6 separate regions of the Homo sapiens genome follow, and all the other regions are linked to region 1. The links are contacts of gene promoters, found by promoter capture Hi-C in human tissues and cell types (Jung and others, 2019). All regions are on one chromosome and are shown on one strand. Each heading gives the region's core, a stretch centred on a gene start or on the middle of the fragment in contact. The rest is flanking DNA. Distances are from core to core; before and after follow the strand shown. Region 1 holds the start of ABCA3 (ATP binding cassette subfamily A member 3). Region 2 holds the start of SRRM2 (serine/arginine repetitive matrix 2). Region 3 holds the start of NDUFB10 (NADH:ubiquinone oxidoreductase subunit B10). Region 4 holds the start of PRSS27 (serine protease 27). Region 5 holds the start of KCTD5 (potassium channel tetramerization domain containing 5). Region 6 has its middle 13 kb from the start of FLJ42627.

Evidence for each region. Contacts are between HindIII fragments. The study calls those that stand out against the background at their distance.
Region 2: the fragment with the promoter of SRRM2 here is called in contact with the fragment with the promoter of ABCA3 in region 1 in 3 of the 25 tissues and cell types used here (adrenal gland, aorta and dorsolateral prefrontal cortex).
Region 3: a contact is called between the fragment with the promoter of NDUFB10 here and the fragment with the promoter of ABCA3 in region 1, in 2 of the 25 tissues and cell types used here (lymphoblastoid cells and mesenchymal stem cells).
Region 4: a contact is called between the fragment with the promoter of PRSS27 here and the fragment with the promoter of ABCA3 in region 1, in 3 of the 25 tissues and cell types used here (H1 embryonic stem cells, dorsolateral prefrontal cortex and lymphoblastoid cells).
Region 5: the fragment with the promoter of KCTD5 here is called in contact with the fragment with the promoter of ABCA3 in region 1 in 2 of the 25 tissues and cell types used here (dorsolateral prefrontal cortex and thymus).
Region 6: a contact is called between a fragment that was not itself captured here and the fragment with the promoter of ABCA3 in region 1, in 1 of the 25 tissues and cell types used here (IMR-90 fibroblasts).

The regions. Positions count from the first base shown.
Region 1 is chr16:2,339,344-2,343,936 of GRCh38, reverse strand. ABCA3 (ATP binding cassette subfamily A member 3) reads left to right here and starts at 3,209. Exons shown (of 33, transcript NM_001089.3): 1 at 3,209-3,364. It also overlaps the pseudogene ABCA17P. RefSeq lists silencers at 2,899-3,358, 3,529-3,588. The HindIII fragment of the contact is 11,234 bases long and covers 1-4,593 here.
Region 2 is chr16:2,750,284-2,754,876 of GRCh38, reverse strand. SRRM2 (serine/arginine repetitive matrix 2) reads right to left here and starts at 2,239. Exons shown (of 15, transcript NM_016333.4): 1 at 2,031-2,239. SRRM2-AS1 (SRRM2 antisense RNA 1) reads left to right here and starts at 2,277. Exons shown (of 6, transcript NR_027275.1): 1 at 2,277-2,435. RefSeq lists enhancers at 831-1,673, 1,674-2,516, 2,398-2,687, 2,748-2,917, 2,517-3,359 and silencers at 1,828-1,887, 1,908-2,217. The HindIII fragment of the contact is 13,386 bases long and covers 1-4,593 here.
Region 3 is chr16:1,958,240-1,960,787 of GRCh38, reverse strand. It overlaps NDUFB10 (NADH:ubiquinone oxidoreductase subunit B10), which reads right to left and starts at 1,250. Exons shown (of 4, transcript NM_004548.3): 1 at 1,034-1,250. The coding sequence starts at 1,163. RefSeq lists silencers at 621-730, 1,161-1,470 and an enhancer at 2,193-2,548. The HindIII fragment of the contact is 2,906 bases long and covers 1-2,283 here.
Region 4 is chr16:2,717,704-2,722,296 of GRCh38, reverse strand. It overlaps PRSS27 (serine protease 27), which reads left to right and starts at 2,073. Exons shown (of 6, transcript NM_031948.5): 1 at 2,073-2,182. The coding sequence starts at 2,137. RefSeq lists silencers at 543-612, 743-1,502 and an enhancer at 1,236-1,803. The HindIII fragment of the contact is 19,281 bases long and covers 1-4,593 here.
Region 5 is chr16:2,679,975-2,684,567 of GRCh38, reverse strand. KCTD5 (potassium channel tetramerization domain containing 5) reads right to left here and starts at 2,045. Exons shown (of 6, transcript NM_018992.4): 1 at 1,768-2,045. The coding sequence starts at 2,019. RefSeq lists enhancers at 1,363-1,412, 1,483-1,532, 1,077-1,687 and a silencer at 1,783-1,962. The HindIII fragment of the contact is 14,940 bases long and covers 1-4,593 here.
Region 6 is chr16:2,649,422-2,654,014 of GRCh38, reverse strand. No RefSeq gene overlaps it. Among named protein-coding and RNA genes, the nearest start is that of FLJ42627, 13 kb to the right of the region's middle. RefSeq lists an enhancer at 1-358. The HindIII fragment of the contact is 4,729 bases long and covers 979-4,593 here.

The DNA.
Region 1 (4,593 bases), core at 1,960-4,459:
ACAATATAATGCTTCCCAATCACTGAATGAAAGAATATGTGTACAGCCCTTGGTCTACAATGCGTCTCTGAATTATAACATCATTCCCAGGGAAACAATCAAAGAAGCCCTATTCTAAGATACTGTATTGAATATCAGCAATTTGGGTACTGTTGTACGATACAATAGATAGACAGATAGATAGATAGATAGATAGATAGATAGATAGATAGATAGATAGATAGATAGGGTATAGTATTTGTACCCCTTCAAAGAATTGGGAGCTTATTGGTTTAATTATATCTAGCCGACTAGTATAATGGCTAGGTTTACTGCCTTTTGTGAAGCTGTAAGATTTGTTTATGAGTGTCACCATCCACTATAATGTTTACCATCAATCTTGAGAGAAAAGAAATGTTTGAACCATAGTAACTTCAAGGAGTGTATCCTTCAATTTCTCAGCATGTATTCATGGTATATGGATGTGAGTGTTTCCATATAAGAGAGGGGTAGAGTCCAGGAGCCTGAACACGGAGGTTGTCATCTCAGCTCTACTGGGTGACTCTGAAGAAATTATGACCTTATCTGGGCCTCCATCTGGAAAGAAATGACTAGGTGGAGCATCTAGGTTTGCTTTATTTTTTCAGTAGTGGGCCTTGAGCACAATGTGATGAATTATCCAGGGATTGTTGAAGGGCATCAAAAGGGTCCAGCTCACTGTGGGCAACTGTTTTTTAACAGTTCAGAGCCTGAAATTTTTGGGCATAAGATACTTTTCCCAGTGGCCTTCACACCCTCCCACCTCATGATTGTGATTATAATAATTAACAATTAACCTGGCAGAGTTAAGAAAAAAGATATAAAATTAGTACCCTGCAATTGTCTGTCTTGATCTGTAAGGTCATCCTTCTTCCAAAATTCCTACCCTATCTTCCATCTAAGGTAAATTCTGAGTCAGCCAGTTCTGGTACTGGATTTGGTTACAGAGAATTGGGATCCAGTTTTGAAAAGGCCGGAAAAACGTGCAAGGTCTAACAAATTCAATTTGGAAATGGCAAGGATTGGTTTTGGAAAGAAAAATGACTGAGGATATGACCGGGTGAAGACAGGGCCAAGCAGCCAAGTTCACATCATTTTCTGGGACGAAGCAGAGAATGGGGAAGACATTTTGGATGGGGTGTTGCAGTCTGTGAAGACTGATGGGGAAAGGGGGTTTTTAGGATGTTTGCAGCGCATTAATAATCCACTCCCCCACCCATCCTGTAACTGCATTCAATTGTTTGGGGTTTTTTTTCCCCCTGTATGCTCATTACGGAGACTAGGCTATGTAAATCCCTAGCTATACTCACATTATATACTACCATTTATTTGGCATTTATGTGTCAGGTATTGTAGTAAGCACTTAAACATGCATTTTCTCATTTGACCCAAAAAAGAAAAGAATACACCAACAAAAAACCTTTGAGTTTGCTATTATTATTAATTACTATTATTATAATTTCAATTTTAGGGATAGGAAATTGAGACTCAGAAAGATAAAATGACATGTCTACATTAATTGGTGGGTCAAGATCTGAAGCCAGGTCTCTGTGATTCCACTGAACAAATTATTTAGCATGAGCCTCCTCCGCCCCAGGCACTCTAGGACCCTGGATCTAGGCATGAACCTGACGAAGTCCCTTTGCTCGCGGAATGGGCTATCCAGAACATCATCAGAGTGAAAGGTGCTATGTACACAGTAAAATGGGGAACGAGCCGCTCAAACCCTACTCCATCAGGACTCTTGGGGGTGGGCGATTTCCGCCCCCGGCCCGGGGCGTTGCATTAGGTCGGGGCCGTCGGGTCGTGGTGCCGGCGGCTGGCTGGGCGCGGGGCTGGCGGTGCGGGTCGCAGGCGGCTCCCAGCGGCAGGACCGGCAGCAGCCCTCCCTCACCCGGGGCGCCGGGACCACGGACGCACCTCACTGTGGTCCGGCCGCTGGCGGCGCTCGGGGACCCATTGGCCCCGGCCCGCGGCAACTGTCGGCCCCGCGCGGCGCCCGCCCTCATGCTGGAGCCCGGGAGTCCCTCACTCCACCTCTCCCTGCCACGCCAAGGGGGCCCGCCCCTCCCAGGCTCTCCTGCCTGGGGCGACCCAGTCCCACGACCCGGTCCGGCCCAGGGACACCCCGACCCACCTCCCCACTCCCGTCCCGTTAGACCGCGACCCGTCCCTGGGACCGCCTAATGTGACACGCCCGGGACCCTCCCTGCAGGCGACTCCCTGCAGGGCCCCCGCCCTGGACACTCCCTCCAGGTGACCCCGTTCCGCTCGCTCCGTGAGGTGACCCCGACCCTCTCCGGACCACCTCCTCAGGTGACCCCGACCCTCTCCGGACCCTCCCCGACCCTCCCCTCAGGTGAACCCGACCCTCCCCGGACCATCCCGTCGGGTGACCCCAACCATCCCCGAACCCCCCCACCCTCCCCTCAGGTGACCCCGACCCTCTCTGGACCCTCCTCACAGGCGGCCCCGCCCCACCCCGGGACCCTCCCGCCAGGTGACCCCGACAAGGCCGGGCCCTCCTGCCTGAGGTGACTCCTACCCGGCTGGGGACCCCCGAGGCCTCCCTCGCTCCTTAAGTGAGGGCGACTCCGCTCATCCCGGGACACCGCGCCTTCTCCTGTAAACTCGACGCCTGCCCCGACGGCCGAATTCCAGAAGGTTCCTCGCCGCCGCCTCGCCTTCGGTCGCGCCCCAGCGCCCGGCCAGAGGCGGGGAAGCCCTTCCCCCGGTGCCAGGAGTGACGAGGGCCCAAGGAAAGACAGTGCGTGAGGAGAAATGGAGAAACGGCCAAAGTCGAGTTTCCGGGTGTGAAGACTTCCACTGCTGCGAAACGCACGTGCGCAGAGTCATTCCTGTCAGAGGCCACCGCGCCCTCGCTCGGCTACCGCCGCTGCGCGCCCCCTGCTGGACATAGGCGCGGGCACAGAGCAGTGCGCAAGCACGGGCTGCCGCGCGGCCGGGTGCGAACCGCGTACTCGCAGGGTGGCTGACTGCGCACGCGCAAGTCAGAGCGCCCTCTGCCGGGCATGGGCGACATGCAGGGGGCACCGCGCAGGCGCGGGGTTGGGCTGGCCGGAGCGGCCGAGGCGGCCGGGGGTGGACCGGGCACCTGCAGGGGCGGCCGACTGCGCACGCGCCATCCGCGGCGCCCCCTGCAGGAGCCGGAGCGGCCGCTGCGTCCGCCAGTAGCGGGTTGCAGGCGCACCCTCCCCTCCAGGGCGGCCACGCAGCTGTCAGTGCCGCCGCCACTGCGAGGCTGGAGCGGAGCCCGGGTGGCCGAGGGAGGGGACCCCGCGAGAGGGCCGCGCGCCGGCCGCCGCCGCCCCGGCGCCCAGGCTCGGTGAGTGCCGCCGGGACCCGCCGCTCGCGCGCTCGTTCCCGGGGCTTGCGGTCCCCACCCGGGTCCGCCCTTCCCACCCTCGCCGGCCAGCTCGGGCCTCGGGCCCCCCCCAGCTCCGGCCTGGCCTGCGGGCCCCTCCCGCGACCCCGCATCCCCTCCGGCCGCGCCCGCGCCCGCCCCTCCTGCCGCGGCCTCGGCTCCGGGCGCTCCCTGCAGGTGCCGCTCCCTCAGCGTCGGCTCCCATCCGAGCCTTGGGCGTGTCCCGCACTGCGGGCAGTGCCTGAGCCCGCGCCGCGCGGGGAAGCTCGACCCTGCGGAGACTCGGCACGGCCCGGGCCCTCTGTGTGCGCCCAGAAGGTGGATATGTAGCGACCGACAGCCCCGGCCCCGAGGGATGCAGGCGTCCGCCGCGCACTTGCGGAGATGGCGCCGCTTTCCGGCCGCAGGGATGCCGGGCGCGCGGTGGCAAAGCCGCCCGGGTTGGATTCCGCCTGCTCCCACCCTCTGGTTCCGAGGAGCCTCCAAATCCGAATCCAAGGCCCACGGTCCGCGGCGGGCGTTTGCTGCGCCCTCCACTGTGTGGGAACGGGAAAGGGGAGCCGCTAGTCCAGGCGGAGGGGCTTGTGGCAGTCGCCGGAGGCCGCGTTCTCGGCGCCCTCGGTCAGGACGCCTGTGTGCATCGCGTCCGTGTGTCTTGGCTCTGTTCCAAGCCGGCTCCACGCTTCAGAAGGGCCGGGACGGCCTTATGGTCAGGGGCGTGGGGAAGGCGCTTGGTGTCTGTCGCACAGATGAAGCCATGTCCTCAGGGGGTAATTGCCGCTTGTTCTCCGGGTTACGTCCTGGACTGTGCACTCCGGGAAGGCGTCGATTGGATCTTGTTGGGGTTTGTGTTCCTGGAACTCCAGAAATGCCCGCTGAGTGAGTAGCCGAGACCCCGCGACAGCATGGAGCCCAGGCAGGGAGCACGTGGGAGAGGTTCACTCTTCTCCTGGGCATCCCGTCATTTTATTCAGATAGTCTGGGCGCTGCCTTTTGTAAACTTGAAAAGACTAAGACTGTTTTAGAAAGTTTGCCTCATGAGAAATGTAAGAGAAAGGGAAAAATAGATAAAAATGGATGTCATGGGAATCTCCCCCACACTTTCATTTTTAACTTCTTAGATAATTTTTCTTTTAAATTGAACCTTTGCTAACTCTACCTGAAAAACAGGACGACGTCTCTCCCTTCCT
Region 2 (4,593 bases), core at 990-3,489, 410 kb before region 1:
AGAGGCTAAACCTGGATAAGGCAAGCAGAAATCCAGGAAAAAATGAAAAACTGTATGGCTCAAAAAATCAATTTCTCTACACCCCAATCCTCATTTTCATCTTCTAGTACCAATCCTCCTCACGGTTTAAAACTAGGTCCTTCTTCGCCTCTCCCCTACCCCACTTAATTTCTGCTTCCCCTGCAGCATGTTTTTGACCTGCACTTAATTCTTCAGCTTAACCATTCACCCACACTTCCATACCACCTCACACAAAAATCCCCCCACTCCTTAAGAAAGGAAAACCAGGCCGGGTACGGTGGCTCACGCCTGTAACACCTGCACTTTGGGAGGCCGAGGTGGGCGGATCACCAGATCAGGAGATTGACACCAGCCTGGCCAACACGGTGAAACTCCATCTCTACCAAAAATACAAAAATTAGCTGGGCGGCGGCGATTGCCTGTAATCTCAGCAACTCCAGAGGCTGAAGCAGGAGAATCGCTTGAACCCGGGAGGCGGAAGGTTGCAGTGAGCCGAGATCGCGCCACTGCACTCCGGCCTGCCAACAGAGCTAGACTCCGTCTCGGAAAAAAAAAAAAAAGAAAAACCAGTAGGTGCTAAGCAAAGGATATTAGGTCACAATGTTTCGGAGAACTTTTAGGGAATGAGCCACCTAGTCCACCCCACAAAAAAAGACGACGACCCCACGGCATCTAAGGGGTGTGTTAAGACACAGAAAGTAGGAAGATCAACACCACACACAAATCACCAAACCAAACGATATTACAAAACTCTTAAAGTGGGGGCCATAGACAGTGGATATGCAAAAGTTACCCAAGTTAAAAGCAGAAAGTAAAAAGTACAAAGGAAGACAAAAACACCCTTTTCTGTTGGGAAATTATCCGAGTGGTAAGCTAACAATGAAGTAGAAAGATATATTTGAATTCAACAGTAAAATATGCAAAAAAGAAAACGGTACCAAAAGGGGAGAAAAAGGGGAGACAAGGGTTGTCGAAAAAAATGGACATCAGCAAGCACAGCCAGCTCAGCACCGGGGCGCTCCAGAGCGGCTGAGTGGACACAAAGAACCCAGAAAGCTAAAATAGTAGCTTTAGAAGAGCCCTAAGCCCACGCACTTAGGATGAAAGACAACACAACACTCTGAAATTCTGATCCAGATTCGTCCTAACTGAAGCCGAGTGGAAACCAAGCTTCAGAAGAGCTGTGTGCCAAAGAACGCCTGAAACCAACCAGAAAACTTATATATGAGTCTGGCGTTTTCTTCCCAACGAAGGTCTCCAAAAGCCTCCTTAGTTTGAACACGAATTCTCGGGAGACGTTGAAAAAGTGTAAAAAGGGAACGCACGGTCTACCTTACAAATGTAAACTGAACACGTTCACTTTCTTCACAGTTTTTAAGATTTGGGGTTTCTCCCCGCCACTAACAACTCAAAGGCTGATAGCCGGGAATCCTAAACCATTTAAATCCGGCCCACGAAGTTCAAGGCCCTCCCCGCAGCGCCGGGGGCCTATTTTCGGCCTTGCGGAATGGGGGAGGGGGCTGCGCGGCGTCCCGCAGTCTGGGAGGCCCCCGACACGGGCAGCCCAACGCCGAAGAGAAGCCCGAGGAAAGGAGATCTGGAACCGGGGGCAAGGGTCCAGGAGCAAGCCCCCCGCCGCCGCCCCTTCCCCGCCACTTAAGGGCCGAAAACGGCAGCTGCAGGAAGGCCACCTCGGCGGCACATGTTGGGGGGAGGAGTGAAGCCGAGGCGCGCGCCCTCCCCCCTCACCAAGGGCGCTCGCGAACCCGAGTACAGGCGGCTGCGAACGCCGTTGTCATGGGGGAGGGGCGGGGGGGGGTGAAGCCCGCGCGCGACAGGAACGGCGGGAAGGGGGAAGGGAGGCGAGGGCGTCCGCGCCAGCGAAGGGCGTCGAGCGCGCGTGCGCGCGGAGGAGCTCGGCGGCCTGGGCAGTTCTCCGCGCGCTTTGGCCTCGCGCCGGGGCCGCCGCCCCTCCCCCACCCGGCTCGCTGGCTCCCTCACCCTCTCACCCGCCGCCTCCGCCCGCCGCCTCCGAGGGGGAGAGGTCTTGCCGCCGCCGCTGCTCGAGCTCCCGAGTCCCTCGGGCCTGGGGCCGCCGCCTCGCCTCGCCGGTCCGCCCGCCTCAGCCGACGCCGACGCCTCCTCGCTTCCTCAGGGGCCGCAACGGGCTCCAACTGCGCCACTCGCACCCCGCCTGGGCCGCGCTGCACGTCAGCACGACTAACTGCGTGCGTCAGCACGCAAACGCGCGTCGCGGGGCCTGCCGGGAACTGGAGTGCGCCCCGCGGCCTTTTGCGCAGGCGCCGAAGCCACACCGCGAAGTACCGTTTTTTCAGGCACAAGGAAGGTTTCACCCCGTTGCCGAAAGACTAAGCGTCCCGTTGGCCAGTGCAACGAAGAACGGAGGAAGCGACGTAAGACACCGCGTATTCGTAGGCCTTCCGCTGCGGGGAGGAGCACAGGGCCTAGCGGCAGCAAAGCGACGCCCGAGCGCGTCTCGTCTCCCGCTGTCGATGCAGAGCATTCTGGGAGTTGTGGTTCGGGCGTGTCGCGGAGCCCGGATGTAATTTCGGCTCGGGGCGTGGCGGCCATTTTGTCTCCCCATGTTGGGAGACGATATCCCAGCCGCGGTGGTGCTGCCGCTTTCGTGTGACTTTGGGTTTCCCGAGCGAGCCCGCAGCTGCACAGCAGTCCGCCTTCCCGTACCCGAGAGAAGCCGCCTCAGACCCCAGCCAGCGGGCACCCCCGGAGGCCCCGAGCCTGGCTGCAGGCCCTAGACCTGCACCAGGGGCCCAACCAGTTACCCGTAGCATGGGCCACGTTCTCCCGCTGTAGACCGGGCTGAGGCCCGACGGCCACCCCTGGGGGAGGAGTTTTCTTAGCTTCCGGTAGGGCAGCCAGGCCGGGGTCCCACCAGACCCAGGACGTGATACCGGTGAAGCGGCACATACAGGAACAAGGCAGGAGGAAAATAATAAGCACCTTAAAGTTTCCACTTTTCGGTACCGTACTTCCTGTTAATGTTTCTAAGCCCGTGATTCTGGGCCTGATAATCAGCCAGCCGTCCTCACAGCAGAGTTGTAAGACGCTGGGCTGCTCAAGCACAAGTTCATATCTAGACCCACCGCTGGCGAGCAGCCCTGGACGTCCCGCTTAGCTGTCCTAACCAACTCAGGTGGCCTTGATCCGCAACAGGACGCGGTACCACGTAATGAACTGTCCATTTGAGTGCAAGGATTTATATTTGTTATTACGATTTGGGGGTGTTTTTAAGAGGCAGGGTTTTGCCCAGGCTGTTCTCGAATTTGGGGCTCAAGCGATCCTCCGACCTCAGCCTCCCAAGTAGCTGGGACTACCCGTGCATGACACCCTATCTGGCCCTTGTTTTTTGTTGTTGTTGTTGTTCTTTCTTTTTTCACGTGGTTTCGCACTTGTCACCCAGGCTGGAGTGCAATGGTGTGTTGTCGGCTCACTGCAACCTGTCTCTCAGGTTGAAGTGATTCTCGTGTCTCAGTCTTCCGAGTAGCTGGGATTACAGGCGTGTGCCACCACGCCTGGCTAATTTTTGTATTTTTAGTAAAGACGGGGCTTCACTATATTGGTCAGGCTGGTCTCGATTTCCTGACCTCAGGTGATCTGCCCACCTCAGCCTCCCAAAGTGCTGATATTACAGGCGTGAGCCACCACGCCCGGCCCGTATCCGGCTTTAAGATTTGTTTTTCACTTGCCCGTGGGAGGATGTACTTATCTCAGATGCTAGAGCCGGGAGACCCTCCCCCCCACCACCCCCATCTCCTGCAGGAGCTCTGATCGCAGATTGGAGTGTCTGAACTCTGCATCTATGGACGGTGCTTCTGTAAGCCGGCCGCAACTCTGGAGTGGCATAGTAAAGTGGCAAAGGCTTTGCCTTTCTGGTTAAAGACCCCAGCACCTCCAGTGAGACCCTTTCCTGTACCCCCACTGATATTCTTTATGGAATGTTTTGTGCGTGAGTCAGCACATTTAATGCCCGTGAATAGTGACAAAACATGGTTTGCAGTACCCTAATGACTGATGATGCTGAGAATCTTTTGATGTGCTTGTTGGCCGTTTGTACATCTTTGGAGAAATTTCTCTTCGTGTCTTTTGTCTATTTTATTTTTTTGGGACAGAGTCTCACTCCTAACCCCGGGCTGGAGTGCAGTGGCACGATCTCCACGCACTACAATTCTTGTACCTCAGCCTCCCAAGTAGCTGGGATTACAGGCGCACGCCACCACCCAGCTCATTTTTTTATTTTTAGTAGAGGTGGAGTTTTTTGTAGAGATTGTGTCTCCCTGTGTTGCCCAGGCTGGTCTTGAACTCCTGGGCTCAAACTGTCCTCCCCCCTTAACCTCCCAAAGTGCTGGGATTACAGGTGTGAGCCATGGCACCCAGCCCTAGAATGATTTTTTAGTTTCCCTTTAAACTTTATTTTTTTATTCACTGTAGTGTGGTGGACGGTGGTGCCCCAAAACTTCACAACCACCTAGACATTCGGAAGGTGACCTTATTTGGAATAAGAGATTTTGCAGATGTAATTGAGTTAAAGAT
Region 3 (2,548 bases), core at 1-2,500, 380 kb after region 1:
GGCTCCAACAGGGAGCCTCCAGCAAGCAGAACTTACCACCTTACGGCCTCAGCTTCCTCACTGGGAAATGAACGAGCTAAAAGGAGAGCTCGAACATCCAGACACATAGGACAGACATGCTCTACAACTGCTACAAAAGAGAGGGAGCTGGGTCCGCTGTTGCACGGTTTCCAGATCTTTGGGGGTTTGATTTGGAGACTTCACCCTCTTACGGAAGAACCACCAGAGCATGCTATGCACCCCAAGTGTTCAAAAAGAACTGAACCAGGCTGGACACGGTGGCTCAGGCCTGTAATCCCAGCACCTGGGGGCCAAGGTGGGAGGATCACCTGAGGTCAGGAGTTCGAGACCAGCCTGGCCAACATGGTGAAACCCCGTGTCTACTAAAAATATAAAAATTAGCTGGGCGTGGTGGTGGTGCGCCTGTAATCCTAGTACTGGGGAGGCTGAGGCAGGAGAATCGCTTGAACCCGGGGTGGGGCAGAGGTTGCAGTGAGCCGAGATCGCGCCACTGCACTCCAGCCTGGGCAACAGAGTGAGACTGTCTCAGGAAAAAAAAAAACAACAAAAACTGAACTGGGCATTTTCCCGGTTCGTTCCAGAGATGCTGAATTTGGGCATCTCGGCCATCACCCCGACACTTGGTCATCCGGCAGAGAGACATTTGAGAGAGGCCTGAGGCCAGCGGTGCAGTGGAGGGGTGCCCGGGGCGGCGGGGGGCGGAGAGCAGTGCGGGGTCCTGGGGCAGTGGGCGCTGGGTGCGGCAGGGAGGGAAGAGTCCTGGGAAGAAGCGGGGCATCCCGGGGTGCAGGGGAGAGTAAGGGATCCTGGGAGGTGAGGTCCGGGGTGCAGTGGGAGGCCAAAGGAGGCGACGGAGCTCGGAGGTCTCCGGGGGTGGGGAGTTGTCCCCGGGGTGCAGCGGGGGGCGGTCTCAGGCAGACGGGACCCCGGAGGCATTGGAGGATCCAGGCAGGGTGTGGGATCCAGGGGTCCCCAGAGGCCGGCGAGGGAGCCCCGGGCTGGGGCTTCGTACCTCTCACGAGGGTCACGGGTCGGTCCACGATGAGGTCGAACGCTTTCATCATGTAGACGATGGGATTGGGCTGCACCGGCGTGCGGCGCGGGGGCTCAGGGTACACATCCTTGTCCCAGCTGTCCGGCATGGCGGCGGCGGGCGCGGACTCCGCTCCCGGACGCGCTGCCCTGGCCTCTACCTCCGTCCGGGTCCCGCGGCCTAGGTCGCCCGCTACAGAGGACGCCGAGGGCGGCTGCGTCTGCGCGCTGGCGCCGCGATGCACCATGGGACTTGTAGTTCCCCGGCTCCGCCGGGCGCGGCCGGGACCCGCCTCGCCGCAGGGCGCCCCCGCGTGGGGCCTCCGTTCTCGGTCTGTGCCGAGCGCCTACGCGGTGCTGGTCGCTGGTCTGGGCGCCTGGGAAGCAGCCGCGAACCGGACAGATTCCTGCTTACGATGAAAGAAACAGACAAAAGGCAACTGACATAAGGAATAGGAGGGGGTCATTCGGTTCCCACTGCGCGCCAGGCACTGTGCTGAGTGCAGCAGGGAATAAGATAAACTGTGATGGAGAACACAGGCCGTTAGAGCGCACACGACAAAGTGAACAAATAGCACGCGATTCCAAACACCCTACTCCTCCAGGAAGCTTTCCTGGATTGCCTAGTCCCTACAGACTTCTCTGGGCCCCGCTCTCTACAAGGGCCCCTCATGGACTGGCTGGTGCCAGTTAACTTGGGAGCCTGTCTGGGGGAGGGCAGGGAGCAGACCAGGAGGCAGGGCTTGCCCTTAGGCGGCTCATAGGGAGAAGGCACCTACCCTGGGCACAGGGCCCTCTGGCCGGCTTTGATGGTTCCATCCTGGCCCTGGGGCACTCTGGTGCTTCTAGGCAGCTCCACTGAGCAGGGTCCTGCTGGCCACATCTTCAGTCTCCACACCTGGCACGGCCCCTGGCTGCTATCCAGGGGGGACACTGGTCATGTCCTGTCCTGAGGTTGAGGCCAGCGACACAGAACCATCAACCCTACAGACAAACAGTGAGAGGTGACAGCGTGCTGGCAGTCCTCAGAGCCCTCGCTCGCTCTCGGCGCCTCCTCTGCCTGGGCTCCCACTTTGGCGGCACTTGAGGAGCCCCTTTCTGGGCTGGCCAAGGCCAGAGCGGGCTCCCTCAGCTTGCGGGGAGGTGTGGAGGGAGAGGCGCAGGCGGGAACCGGGGCTGCGCGCGGTGCTTTGCGGGCCAGCGCGAATTCCAGGTGGGTGTGGGCTCGGCGGGCCCCGCACTCGGAGAGCCTGGCCGGCCCTGCCGGCCCTGGGCAATGAGGGGCTTAGCACCCGGGCCAGCGGCTGCGGAGGGTGTGCTGGGTCCCCCAGCAGGCCGGCCCACCGGCGCTGCGCTCGATTTCTCTCGCCAGGCCTTAGCTGCCTCCCCGCGGGGCAGGGCTCGGGACCTACAGCCCGCCATGCCTGAGCCTCCCCCACTCCGTGGGCTCCTGTGCGGCCCGAACCTCCCCGACGAGCGCCGCCCCCTGCTCCAG
Region 4 (4,593 bases), core at 824-3,323, 380 kb before region 1:
TTAAAAGGAGGGTTGGGGAGCAGACACCAAGGAACACACAGAAAGGTGCCAAGAGGAAATAGTTACCTGCGAGGCTCTAAGACTGCCTCTGAGATCCCATCAGTGACCTGACCATAGGGTGCTGGAGAAATGTGGTCACCCAGACACTTTGAAACACTTTCCGTGGTTGATAATTATTATTCTCCTTTTTTTTTTTTTTTTTTTGAGACAGGGTCTCACTGTCTCCCAGGCTGGAGTGCAGTGTTGCAATCTCGTGTCATTGCCATCTCCGCCTCCCGAGTTCAAGTGATTCTCCTGCCTCAGCCTCCTGAGTAGCTAGGATCACAGGTGCCCGCCACCAAGCCCGGCTAATTTTGTATTTTAGTAGAGACGGGGTTTCACCATGTTGGCCATGCTGGTCTCGAACTCCTGACCTCAGGTGATCTGCCTGCCTTGGCCTCCCAAAGTGCTGGGATTCCCGGTGTGAGCCACTGCACCCAGCCCGTCGCGGTTTATAATTAGAGATTTCTCTGCTAAATGATGTTCTCTCTCTCACACTGAGGTGAGGTCTGTTTGGGTCACCTTTGTATTCCCCAAACCGGGGACAGTATTGGGCTCAAATCTGCTCAGAAATGACTGACTGACTGAATGAATAAATCAATACATGAATGAATACGTTTGGAGTCCCCTCTTCCCACTCCTCGCCCTCCCTCCTTCCCTCCAGACCCCCAGGGGCTGCCCAGCCCGCCTCCCACCCCCGACCCGGGAACTCCAGGGACTGGACGGGGAGGGAAGGGTGGGAGGAGGCGGTGGAGGCGGAGGCGGAGACGCGGGAGGGCGGGGCTAGGGAGGGCGATGCGGGGAGCCGGAGCCCGGACCATGAGGCTGGGAGCGCCCCTTCTGCACCCCTGGCCGCCCGCGCCGCGCCCCGCGCCCACCAGAGGGCAGCACCACGACGCGCGCGGACAAGGCTGAGGCGGGAACGGCCGCACCCCCAGCCCCGCCCGGAGCCGCCCGGCCCCGCCCCGCCCGCGAGTACCGACCCCCGGCGCCGGCGGGGAAACAGGTCCGGCGCCCCCGACCCCACGGCCCGGCCCCACTCTGTCTCTGACGTCAGCGCCGTGCCCCAAATAACTTCCTCCCCGAGCCTCTTCCGCCGCGGCGCCGCGCCCAGAGCCAGGCGGGGACACCGAAACGGTAACCCCGGCCCGGCCTTCCCGGAGCCGCTTCCGCCCCGCCTGGTGCCAGGAAGCCCCCGCCCCTTCCAAGGGATGGCAGCCGGGGCCCGGGTCGGCCGCCTGGGCCGCGCTGGCGCGCGCCTGAGGAACTTCTGGGGCCTGCTGTCCCGGGAGGAGGGTCGCTGCGGCCAACTCCGGACCCCGCCCCATGTCCCATCGCCTCCCCTGCCCTCGGCCCCGCAAACACCCCTGGCCTTGACTTTCCCACCAGCGCGGCCCAGCCCCACTGTGTTCCATCGGCGCTCAATAAAATACTGAATGAGGCCGGGCGCGGTGGCTCACCCCTGTAATCCCAGCGCTTTGGGAGGCCGAGGAGGGCGGATCACGAGGTCAGGAGATCGAGACTAGCCTGGCCAACACGGTTAAACCCCGTCTCTACTAAAAATACAAAAAATTAGCCGGGCGTGGTGGCACCTGCCTGTAATCCCAGCTACTCAGGAGGCTGAGGCAGGAGAATGGCTTGAACCTGGGAGACGGAGCTTGCAGTGAGCCGAGATTGCGCTCCAGCCTGGGCGACAGAGCGAGACTCTGTCTCAAAAAATTAAAAAAAATAATAATAATAATAATGAATGAAGCTGGACGGACTTCGCGTGCACCGCGGTCAGCTCGGGGTCTGCTGGGGGGTCTGGGTCAGCTCAGGGTCCAGGAACCGAGGCCAACGGCACCCCGTGCTGCGCTGGGGTGAGGGGTCTGCCCTGGGGTCTCGGGGTTCAGGGCTAGGTCACGGAGGAGTCGGCTCTGGGCGCTTCCTTCCTGAGGAGAGGAGCTGGGCAGGCCGGGCCGACGGGTTGGGCCGCATAGCCGGGCCTGTGCTCATCTCCAGCATAAAACTCCACTTCATGGAGCCTGCACCTCGCTCGTGCTCCAACGCTTCTGCCACCGCCGACCACGGCCCTGCGCCCCAGCCAGGCCTGAGGACATGAGGCGGCCGGCGGCGGTGCCGCTCCTGCTGCTGCTGTGTTTTGGTGAGTCGTGAAGGTGCAGGGTCCTGGTGGTGCAGTCCCCCACCAGGCTCCGCTGCACTGCCTGGGGCTCCGGCTCAGCCCCCTACTCCCTGGGACAGGCTGGGGCTGTGGGACAGGCCATCATCCCTCCTGCCCCTGAGCAGGTGGGAAGGCTCCAGATGTGCCAAGTGGGGAGTCCAAAGTGGGGAGGCAGGGTGGGAGGTGTGCGCACAGGCCCCAGAGGACCCCACCGGCATAACTGGGCAGCACCTCCTCCCATGCCTCTCCGCGGGCACTGGTGTGCCAGCTCTGGCCAGGCTCCCTGCTTCCTGCCACCTCGGCCTCTCCCCCCATTCTCTAGGTGAGGACAGGGGCCTCCTACGTGCAGGATGTGAACTCAGGCTCCAAGTGCCTGGACCATCATACTCGGGGTGGGAGGGTGGCCGAGCCGAGGGCTGCTGCCTGTGCCCGGAAGCCCCAGCAGGCTGGCTGCAGGCTCAGTAGAGAGCTGGGGGCAGGGGGTGTAGGTGGCAGAGGGCCCTGTCTCCTGCTGACAGAGGAACCGGTGATGCGCCACCGTGCCCTCTCCCAGTCCTGGGTCAGGGACAGCAGGTGCCAGCCAGGGGGCCCCACCTGCCAGGCCCCTCCCTGCGGGCCGGGACACTCTCTGTCAGGGAAAACCTCTCACATTCCTGGGCTAGCCTAGCCAGTCTGGCAGCCACCACACTTCCCTGTCCTCAAGTCACCTCCCAGGGCTGGGTCAGGTCATCCCAGGCTGCAGCTTAGCCAGTACTCCAGGCTTCCTTGTTCTCCTGGGTGGGAGGGCACCAGTGGCCCCTCAGTGGCCCGGCCTCCCCCACCCCATGCCCCCAGTCTCCCAGCACAAGGATGGTGCCCTCTGAGCAAGCCATGTGCACAGGAGGTGGAAGGCTGTGACTGCCCCTGAGCGGGGTGAGGAACCAAGGTCATTGCCAAAACTCTTTGGCAATGAGTTTTGCAGTCGGTTCACTAACAGCTGTGACCAGAGGCTGGACTCCTGGACACGTCCTCACTCCCAGCCCGAGGGTGGCACTCCCACCAGGTCTCTGGCTGGTGGTACCCACTAAGCTTCACCATCCCCACCAGCTACCAGCGAATCACAGGCCCAGGCCCCAAACAATGCTCCTGACACCCCCGGCACCCCTGGCTGTTGCTTCCAGCCCCCACAGGGCGCCCACCCTGAAGGGCTCAGCTGTCCACATCCCCCATTTCCCATCAGCCCCCACAGCCACACTTGTGTCCATCCACACATTCCCTGAGATCAGGCCCCCCAGATGCAGCCCTTGCCTTCTCGGAGCTCCTGGGCTAAGATAAGACTTGATTCTGGCTCCAGGGTGATGTAGACAGAGCTCCCATCAGGACAGAGAGCTCAAGAGAGAGTATAGGGCTTCCAAGGTAGACAATGCAAGCAAGCAAGGAAGGCTTCCTGGAGGAGGCAGCATTCAGTTGGGCCTTGATCTCTAGATCACGATTAGGACTTGGCTGGGAGCGGTGGCTCACGCCTGTAATGCCAGCACTTTGGGAGGCCGAGGTGGGCGGATCACGGGGCCAGGAGATCGAGACTATCCTGGCAAACATGGTGAAACCCCTCTCTACTAAAAATACAAAAAAATTAGCCGGGCTTGGTGGCGGGCCCCTGTAGTCCCAGCTACTCGGGAGGCTGAGGCAGGAGAATGGCGTGAACCCAGGAGGCGGAGCTTGCAGTGAGCTGAGATCGCGCCACTGCACTCCAGGCTGGGCAACAGAGTGAGACTCCATCTTAAAAAAAAAAAAAAAAAAAAGACTAGGACTTATGGAGACTGGGGGAAGGGCATCCAGATTGTGGGGTGAGGGGAGCAAGCACTCAGAGACCAGAAGACTCTGCCTAAATGAGAAGTACAGGGCTACTTTAGGAAGGAAGGATCTGCATGGGGAGGAGGCATCGCTGAAGGGGCAGTGCTCAGGCAGGGAGCATGGAGACACAGCTCCTGCAGACTCCCAGAGAGCGAGAAGGCCTGACAGTGCGCGCCCTTCTGCAAGCAGGATCCTCAGGCTTGGAAGGAGCAAGGGGTCGGGGGGCCAGGGAATAACCCTCCCGGTAGTGTTTGCATTTTAAAGGGCACTTAATTAGCACAAATTAATGAGCAGAGCATCCAGGGCAGACTCTCCATTTCCCGTTGCCCCTGACCCCGCTTCTGCAGGGCACCCCTTTGCCTGCCCTGCACCTTCTCCACCTCCTCCTCCTGCCCATCCACAGCTGCCCCCTCGCCGCCCGCTGCCTTATCGTCCAGCAACCCCCGGGGTGTCTCTGCCCACCAGTGGTGTTGGGGAGGGTGCCCCCCAGACTGTGAGGCAGACAGAAAGGAAGAGGATGCCGTAAAAACCCTGGGGGTGCTTGGGCCCTCCATGGCCAC
Region 5 (4,593 bases), core at 796-3,295, 340 kb before region 1:
GGTCTCGATCTCCTGACCTCGTGATCCGCCTGCCTCGGCCTCCCAAAGTGCTGGGATTACAGACGTGAGCCACCGCGCCCACCTTTTTGTATTTTTAGTAGAGACCGGGCATCACCATATTGGCCCGGTTGGTTTTGAACGAGATCCACCTGCCTGGGCCTCCCAAAGTGTTGGGATTACAGGCATGAGCCACCGCGCCTGGCCCATAATTTTTAACAAAGTCTTAAGGAACAGTAAAGCAAAGGGATCAACCACCTTAACTGTGCTAAAGTTCATCAACTGGGAATCAAGTGCTCCAGTGCTGAATAGACAACCATTGCCTCAAAGAACCCAATGGACAAGAGCAATTTAAACTCTAATTTCATATACAAAACAGGAATGCTTGAGTAGAAAGGCAAGGGAGTGACCACTAAGCCCTGTTATTTAAAAAGAAAAACCAAACAGTAAAACATACACCCACACTTATAAAAGGAAAATCACAGCTAACAAACGCCTATTTCTATCCTGGGGATGACTGTCATTTCCTGGGAGGTCAATTCTCTGAGTAGAGGGCTTGGTCAAATGAGCAATGGAAACAGTTGGAAGTTGTGGGGAGGCACAGGAGGGTTGGCATCTCAAACCCTCATTTCCACCCACAAGGCTGCCTTAGCAGTAACTCCAGATTCTCACTTCCTGATCACGGTCATGCCATGCTGAGAATGGTCTCAGTCAGGCTTCTCAAACTTGAAGAGGGATCCGAACCTTTCTGGGAAGCCTCCTGCATGGCAAATGTTGGCTGCCAAGGCACAAAGCCAAGCGCAGTCATGTAAGCTCAACTGAAAGACCCCGCAAAGTTAGTATAAGGCTTGTGAACTGCCTTGAATAAATATAGGTAACAACTTCTTCAAACAGGCTTTTTTGTGAGTTTCAATCCTGCACAACTCCCAAGACACGGTTCCTCGGCTCCACAACTCTTGATAAATAAAGGTAGCAAAAGGTTTCTATTACCATCTACCCAACAGCATGAGCATTTCGCTTGATGAAAGACAAGCTGCAAACTAACCTGGAAATTCCTGTCCTTTTGCGAAGACAGTGGGAAAACTAAGCCAATTAGAAAGCAGATTGAAAGATTCCTTACCTGACCCTTCCTGGACATCCCTAAAGCAACCCTTAATATGAGCAAAATCCCCTTCGAAAAATCATACTATATACTACGGACGCATCTTCTAAGAGGTGCTGAGTGGGTGCTGCGTGCTGTGGATGGAAAGGATGGAGCGCCAACTCTCTAAATGCAAGTCACCAGGGAAAAAAAGGGCCGCCCATATCAACCCCCACGTCAGCGTTAATTCAAACGTCCAGAATGTGAAACAACGCCAAGGGTTCTGTTTCCAGAGCCAGCAAGTACCCTGGGACAGAGAAGAGAAGGCGTTCACACACCCTGGGCAAAAGAACCTAGTGAGAAAAAGAAAGTAGAATCACAGCAAAGTCCGGGGTCTAGGAAGCCTCCTCCACCAAAGAGCAAAGAGGGCGAGGAAGAGACACCCCCAAGGTGAATCGACTCAGGATCCTCAAAGGCAGTGGACGCCAGGGCGCCATCCTCACCCTCCCCTCCCAGGGTAGGGGATCGGGGCAAGCTGGGGAGGAGCTGGCGACAAGGGAGCGCGGGGCTCGAAGCCCGAGGAGAGTCGCCCGCTCCCGCTGAAGTCTCCTCCGCACGAAGCAGGGCGTGTGCAGGAGCCGCAGGCCGGGAAGGCCAGGACCCTCCGGGCTGGCCCGTGAGGCCCTCACCTTGTCTGAGTCCAGGTCGGGATCGGCCTGGCATAAGCGGTACAGGAAGGATTTCGGGTCCCGGCACAGGGTCTGCCGAGTGGTGAGGAAGTAGGTGCCGCCGACGTTGAGTCGGACCCACTTGGACACGCTGCCAGGGCGCTGGGCCAGGGCGCCGAGCCCAGCGCTGCAGCGGCGGCACAGGCCGCCCCCCAGCCCCGCCCCGATGCCGCCCCGGGCCGGCGACAGGAGCTCGCAGTGATTCTCCGCCATGATCCCAGCAAGCCCCGCAACAGCTCCCTTCCACCGGAAGCGTCCGGCTTTTAATAGCGTCCTCTGAGTTCTGTCCCGCCCACAGGTCCGCCCTGGTAGAGCGCCCGCCCCGGCGTCACGCGGTAGGCGGAAGTTCCGGTCCCGAAAAGCAGGAGGCTGGGCCCGCTTCCGGCGGGAGCGGAGCACGGGGTGATCTGGGCACTAACGCTGATGGGGAGCAGCGGACATCAGCCTCGACCTCCCACGAGCGGTGCACGAGCGCCTGACCCAGACCTCGACCCTAGCCTTCACCCCCACCCTGACTCCAGTTCATGAACTGGTCAAAGGAAGAGCCATGCCAGCAAACGTCTACACTGTACATGCTTTTTATTACAAGACTACGGAGCATAGGAGGAAAATTCATCATCTGGTAACTACACCTAAAGCACAAATATTTGGGGGGAAAAAAAGAACAGATTCATTAAATTATATGATTAAATCATTGACCCAATAGAAAATTTATATAATAAGGGCGGGGCCTGGTGGCTCACGCCTGTAATCCCAGCACTTTGGGAGGCCGAGGCGGGAGGATCAGGCGGTCAGGAGATCGAGACCACGCTGGCCAACATGGTGAGGCCCGGTCTCCACTGAAAATACAAAAATTAGCCTGGCGCGGTGGTGGGCGCCGGTAATCCAAGCTACTCGGGAGGCTGCGGCAGGAGAATGGCGTGAACCCGGGAGGCAGAGGTTGCAGTGAGCTGAGATCTCGCCACTGCACTCCAGCCTGGTGATAGGGCGAGAGTCTGTCTCAAAAAAAAAAAAAGAAAGTTTTTGTAATAAAGCCAGAAAAAAGTTGTAAAATATATAGTAATTATTCACATTCAAGGCTGTATATCAATACATATAACAACGTGGCCCCGAACATGAATTCAATACAAATAATTCATATATTAGAATTTAGGCCGGGCGCGGTGGCTCATGTCTGTAATCCCAACACTTTGGGAGGCCAAGGTGGGTGGATCACGAGGTCAGGAGTTCAACATCAGCCTGGCCAAGATGGTGAATCTCCGTCTCTACCAAAAATACAAAAAATTAGCCAGATGTGGTTGTGGGCGCTCGTAATCCCAGCTACTCGGAGGCTGAGGCAGAGAATTGCTTAAACCCAGGAGGCGGAGGTTGCAGTTAGCCGAGATCAGGCCACTGCACTCTAGCCTGGGCGACAGAGTGAGACTCCGTCTCAAGAAAAAAAAAGAATTTAAATAACAGGCTGAACTAGAGGCCAACAATAGCCAGCAAATAACCTTCTATAAGATTAAAAACACAAAAGTGTATATCCTAATACCATTGTATTATTTGTTTTCATGAGTTCTTTTAATTTTTGCTTTGTCTGTACATCACAGTTACAGCTACAGACCAGGTAGAGAATATTACGCATGTTCTGACTGCCACCCACCTGAAAGACGTACTAGTCATTTATCCTATTTCATGTTGTGAAGGAACAGCTACAGCAGCTCTAAATACTGTAACAATTTAATTTTGCCAACATCCAACTTAACAGTCGTAATAGAGGCTTTTACCAGCACAATGACCCCTATTCGTAGTCATTCTGCCAGACGGTTAGGCTATGTGGGTTACACAGCTTAAAAAAGGTCTGCCTTTTGTAAAAAGTTCTCTGTACATAGTTTGGTGTTTCTTCATATGGAAGAAATGAGTTATGGGGAAAATTCAGGTACACACGTAGGCTCGTTCAGTTGCTCACCACAGCCATCTCAACAGATGAAAGTGCTCTTTGTTGGAAACAGCTTCCTCCTCACACCAGTTCTCCACAGGCAGCCTCATCTACAACCCTGCAATTTTGGGCCAGAAGTGGTGGCCCCTCAGAGGCTCTGAAGTGCCTCCAGCCCCGATTCAGGCACTTGCCACGTGTGCTGCGTAAGAAGGGACCCCACCCAGTGAGTCAACATAGGCTCATGTCAAGTTTGAAAATAACTGGGGAAAAGTGTATGACAACATCTTCCAGAACATAGTACCTTCACCGTATTCTCACAGCAGCTGCGATCTCTGAAGTCTCAGCAGTGAGCACCCCGGGTCTGTCAACCAGCCAGGCAAGGGGGGGCCCTCAGGCTTCAGAGGGCAAGAAACCAAATTCCGTGCAATTTGGCCATAATCTCTGGTAGAGTGAAGCAGCACTGAACGCAGTGCCTAGAAAAACCTCCTGCACGTTCCCCTGCACAATCAATGGACCCCAACTACAGTGGAGAAATGAAGAATCCAACCAAATTTGGGTGGTCTGGACTTGCTGCCAGCCAGGCAATCTGCAACACTGTGGGCAGGGAGATGGGGGGAGGCGGCCTGAAATCTACACCAGCTGGGACAACCACGCCCTACAATGAAAAAGCCAGCCTGGCTGCTGGGCTCTTGTGAACCACTAAGACCTGAAGGTGGGGGGGTGGAAGGGGGAGACAAATGCACTCTTGTAAAACCCAATCAGCTACGTGGTTTTTTTCAAGTAGAGGCTTTGCTCTGCTACTGACTCCAAATGGCCTAATGTACTTTCTGAGTCTATAAACTTAATTACAGATCACTCACTAAGCA
Region 6 (4,593 bases), core at 2,094-4,593, 310 kb before region 1:
CTGGGTTTGCATCCAAACTCTGAGACCTTTTGGACAAAACATGCCAAAGAAGTTGGTGGTAGTAAGAAATTCATACTAAACTTGTTCTGTTAGGGTTTTTTTCCTTCCAGGTATATTATTTCCCTTCAGTAGCCCTACATTTTAAAAGTTAACGTTCAGCGTTGAGTCAGGGTCAGGTTTTGAATGACACAGGATGTTTTCAGATCCTGAGTTTACCTGAAGCTCTCAAAGTAGCCTCCTAACAAAAATTATTGAAAACATCAACTATTTTGGAATACTTTTAGGTATGTAGAAAAATTGCAGACGACACAGAATTTCCATAATTTCCCCCAGCCAGCTTCCCCTAATGCCATGACATGACCGTGATACCTCTGTCACTCTGTCGAAACTGAGGTGTTCGCGCTGGCACCACACTACTCACCGAGCGACAGGCCTGTTTTGGATTTTATCAGTTTTCCTCCTGATGTCCTTGCTGTCCCAGGACCCCGCCCCGGTGCCACATCGCATCGCGTTGTCCTGTCTCATTCGCCCCCTCTGGTGTAGGATAGCTGCCGTCCTTCCTTGTTTGTCATCAGCTTGGTACTTTTGAGGAGTCCTGGTCAGGTATTTTGCAGAATGTGCCTTCATTTGGGTTTGTTTGATGTCTTGTGGTTGGACAGGTTGTGGGGTTAGGAAGAATCCCACAGAGATGAGGTGCCCTTAGTGCGTCGTATTGGGGTACAGGACATCCACGTGACTCATCGCTGGTGACGTTCAACAAAATTACTTACAAAACTTTTAAAAAATTATTATTGTTTGCTTTAGAGATGAGCTCTCGCTCTGTCATCCAGGCTGGAGTGCAGTGGTGGGATCATAGCTCACTGCAGTCTCCAACTCCTGGGCTCAAGCGACCCCCCCACCTCAGCCTCCTGAGTAGCTGGGGCTACAGGTACGTGCCACTGTGTCTGGCAAAATTAGTTTTACTTTACCAAAAGGAAGCACATAGGCCTGCTCTGCTCTCTGCTACTTGGGGGTTTTGTGTCATAGATTGTAGGACACTGGTGGTAATTTAATTTCAGAAGGGACCTTCTTGCTCACCCAGTTGGATCCTTCCAGTTTCTAGATGAAGACACTTGGGACCTGGAGGCCTTCTGACTTTTGGGTCAGAGCTGGCATGGAGTCCAGGCACCTGCTTTCTGCAGGCATGCATGCTCCTGGGACACTCTGCAGGGACAGAGCCATCCCCAGCAAGGCAGACTGACAGGGCTGGTTTCCAGTCGGGTGGGGCCGCATCCCTCCAGGGGATGTGAGGCAGGTTTGAGATGAGTCTGCTCCCCTTCTGCCTGCTGCTCCTGTCTTTTTTTTTCTTTTTCTTTTTCTTTTCTTTTTTTTTTTTTGAGACGGAGTCTCGCTCTGTTTCCAAGGCTGGAGTGCAGTGGCGCGATCTCAGCTCACTGCAACCTCTGCCTCCCAGGTTCAAGTGGTACTCCTGCCTCAGCCTCCCAAGTAGCTGAGACTACAGGCATGCGCCCCCACACCTGGCTTATTTTGCGTTTTTAGTAGAGACAGGGTTTCTCCATGTTGGTCAGGCTGGTCTCCAATTCCTGACCTCAGGTGATCCTCCCAAAGTGCTGGGATCACAGGCGTGAGCCACCGCAACTGGCCTAGGAGTAACTTCTTAATGAATATTTTAATAATATAAATCTTAGTCTGAATTTCTGACTGTGTCGCCTAGATGCCATGTAGGGGAATGGGCAGGTCAGAGGGTGTGGCCTGCGCTGTGGCGAGGCACTGAGGATTAGGTGCTGCAGTTTTCCTCCGGCCCCTCCTGGTTCCCTGGTGAACACACATCAGCCTCAGATGGGCGACCCCCTACTCATGGGAGGGCTGGGAGTGTGGGCCTTGTAGTTGGATTCTGCTTCAGAATTGCGTGTGACCTCACTGTGGAGTGTTTGACTGGACAAAAGCCTGCTGTATACTCAGTGTCCCCATCTGTAGAAAGGATGCCGATGGTACCCACCCCCAGAGTTGTTTTGAGGACTAACCACGATAATACATGTAAAATGCTCAGAAGAATGTGTGGCAAACAGCAAGCACTTAATAAATTTTTTTTTTAGTAGAGAAAAATGGCATTTTATTTATTTTAAACAACAGCATTTAAAGTTATACCTATAAGGGGCACACAGAAGATATATGGAGAGTTTAAAGAATGAAAATAAACTCACACGTGCCCACCACCCTACTTGAAAAACAGGATTTTACCAGAAGGCTCGAGTGGCCCTCCAGATTGTAGTTTCTGGCCCCTCCCGTTCAGAGGTAACTGGCATCCTGGTTTTCATGTTGATCAGTGGTGTTTAAAGTACACCTGTAGGAAGTTCCAAAGTGCAGGAAGGGAACAAAGCCTCCTTGCAGAGAAATCTTGTACTTTGGTGTTTCATCATCTGTTTGTGTGACAAATATACAACGTTAATGTTGAAGATGTGGGTTAGTGAAATTGAGACCTGGCGCTTCCTGAGGCTGGCAGCCCGGTTGAGCCTGAGGACCAGACTTGAGGCAGTTGGCAGTCCGCGCCTCGTTGCCCTCTGTCTGCCCTGGGTAAGTGAGAGGCTCCTTGGGAGGCCAGTGGAGATGGCTGTGGGAGGACAGATTGAGTAGCTGTCCTTGGAGCTGCTCCTCCCTCCCTTCGTGGAGAAATAGAAACAGCTTTCCTCCGGCCCTCACCTGTTGCCAGGGCTCCACGCTGGTGGGGGCGAGCTGCGTTTTGCTGAGTTGCACCGTGGGAGAGCGTTGGTGACCACTTGCCTGCTGTGGGCCAGCTCCCCGTGGCCAAGGACCAGCGTGGGCAGGGCCTTCGGGCACGGGTTGCTGGTACGAGCACACCGAGAATCCCCTCCGCCATAGGGCCTGCCCTGTGAGCTGCCCACCAGATTCCACGGAGTGCTTCACACTCCTGTCTGGTGTGGGTCCCGCAGCCCTTGTGGGTGGGCCCATGTCATTAGCCTCATTTTAGAGAAGAGTCTTGATGGGTCGGAGAGCGGTGGCTTACCCACAGGTAAGCTGTAAATCTGGAACTCAACTGGGGCATTGGTTTTGCTAGTCCACCACAGTTGTCCTTGGTGGTGGCAGCCTGAGGGGTAGGGGAAGGTGGCGGCTGTCCCTCCCTAACACCCCCTTCCTCCACCTGGTTTTCTGTGCTGGGCCTAGCTTTGTGGAGTTTTCTGAGGTGAGAGGAGGTTTTTACCAGAATGCTCTTTGCCAGTGAGCACAGCTGACCTGAGGGCAGGATCCCTTTGGAGATGAGCTAGGTGGATTGTGGCAGCCTCCCACAACTTTGGTCCGGGGGCCTGGAGAGAGCAGTTCCTGCTTGCCGCGTGTGAGAGTGTGCGGGCGCTGGCTCTACCTGTCGCACTGCATTCCCAGGCTCCAGAGCACACACTGCCATTTAAAGGTAGCTTAGCTTTCTGTTCGGGATCCTTTCTCTTGCTGGTTGAAGTGTTCATCTGCGTGACAGCATCTTGACCATAGGAGGCGCCCTGATTTCCATCTTTTTTTTTTTTTTGAGACGGAGTCTTGCTGTGTCGCCCAGGCTGGAGTGCAGTGGCGCAATCTCGACTCACTGCAAGCTCCACCTCCCAGGTTCACACCATTCTCCTACCTCAGCCTCCCGAGTAGCTGGGACTACAGGCACCCGCCACCACGTCCAGCTAATTTTTTGTATTTTTAGTAGAGACGGGGTTTCACCGTGTTAGCCAGGATGGTCTTGATCTCCTGACCTTGTGATCCACCTGCCTCAGCCTCCCAAAGTCCTGGGATTTCAGGCATGAGCCACAGCACCCGGCCTTTTTTTTTTTTTTTTGAGACAGAGTTTCACTTTTGTCGCCCAGGCTGGAGTGCAGTGGCCCAATCTCTGCCCACTACAACCTCCGCCTCCTGAGTTCAGGCGATTCTCCTGCCTCAGCCTCCCGAGTAGCTGAGATTACAAGTGGCCACCACGACACCCAGCTAACTTTTTTGTATTTTTATTGGAGACGAGGTTGCACCATGTTGGCCAGGCTGGCCTCAAGCAATCCTCCCACCTTGTCTTGCTAAAGTGCTGGGATTACAGGTGTTAGCCATTGTGCCCTGCCTGATTTCTTTCTTGATTTATCTCCCGTGTGTGAGGGAGCTCAGCCTTTCTATATAGTTTTGTCCTCAAAGTTAGAGTTGGGCCTTCTAATCCAGTAGATATTTAAGGCATTTGGAAAAGGGGACACGGTTCATTTAGCTTTGAAAGGCTTATTCTATGATCCAGTGACCGTTGGTTGAGAAAACTTTGTGTCTTCTGTGTTACTTCATTGTGAAAGTGCTTCCAGCTGGCTTCAAGGCCTGCTCAGGTGAATCTTGTAGGTGAACTCAATAAATCCTCATGGCAAATCTGGGAGGTCGGCCCTGTGGCTCCCTGACTTTCAGATGAGGAATCTGAGCCACAGAAAGCTGAGGTAATGTGCCAAGGGATTGACTGCGAGTGAGTGGCAGAGCGGGCGTTCTGACGTGGCACTTGGAACAGCTATGTCTATTTGAGGCCCAGGACTAGTTCAAGTGCAAAAGGCTGAGACAGGTTAGTAGCTAATGACT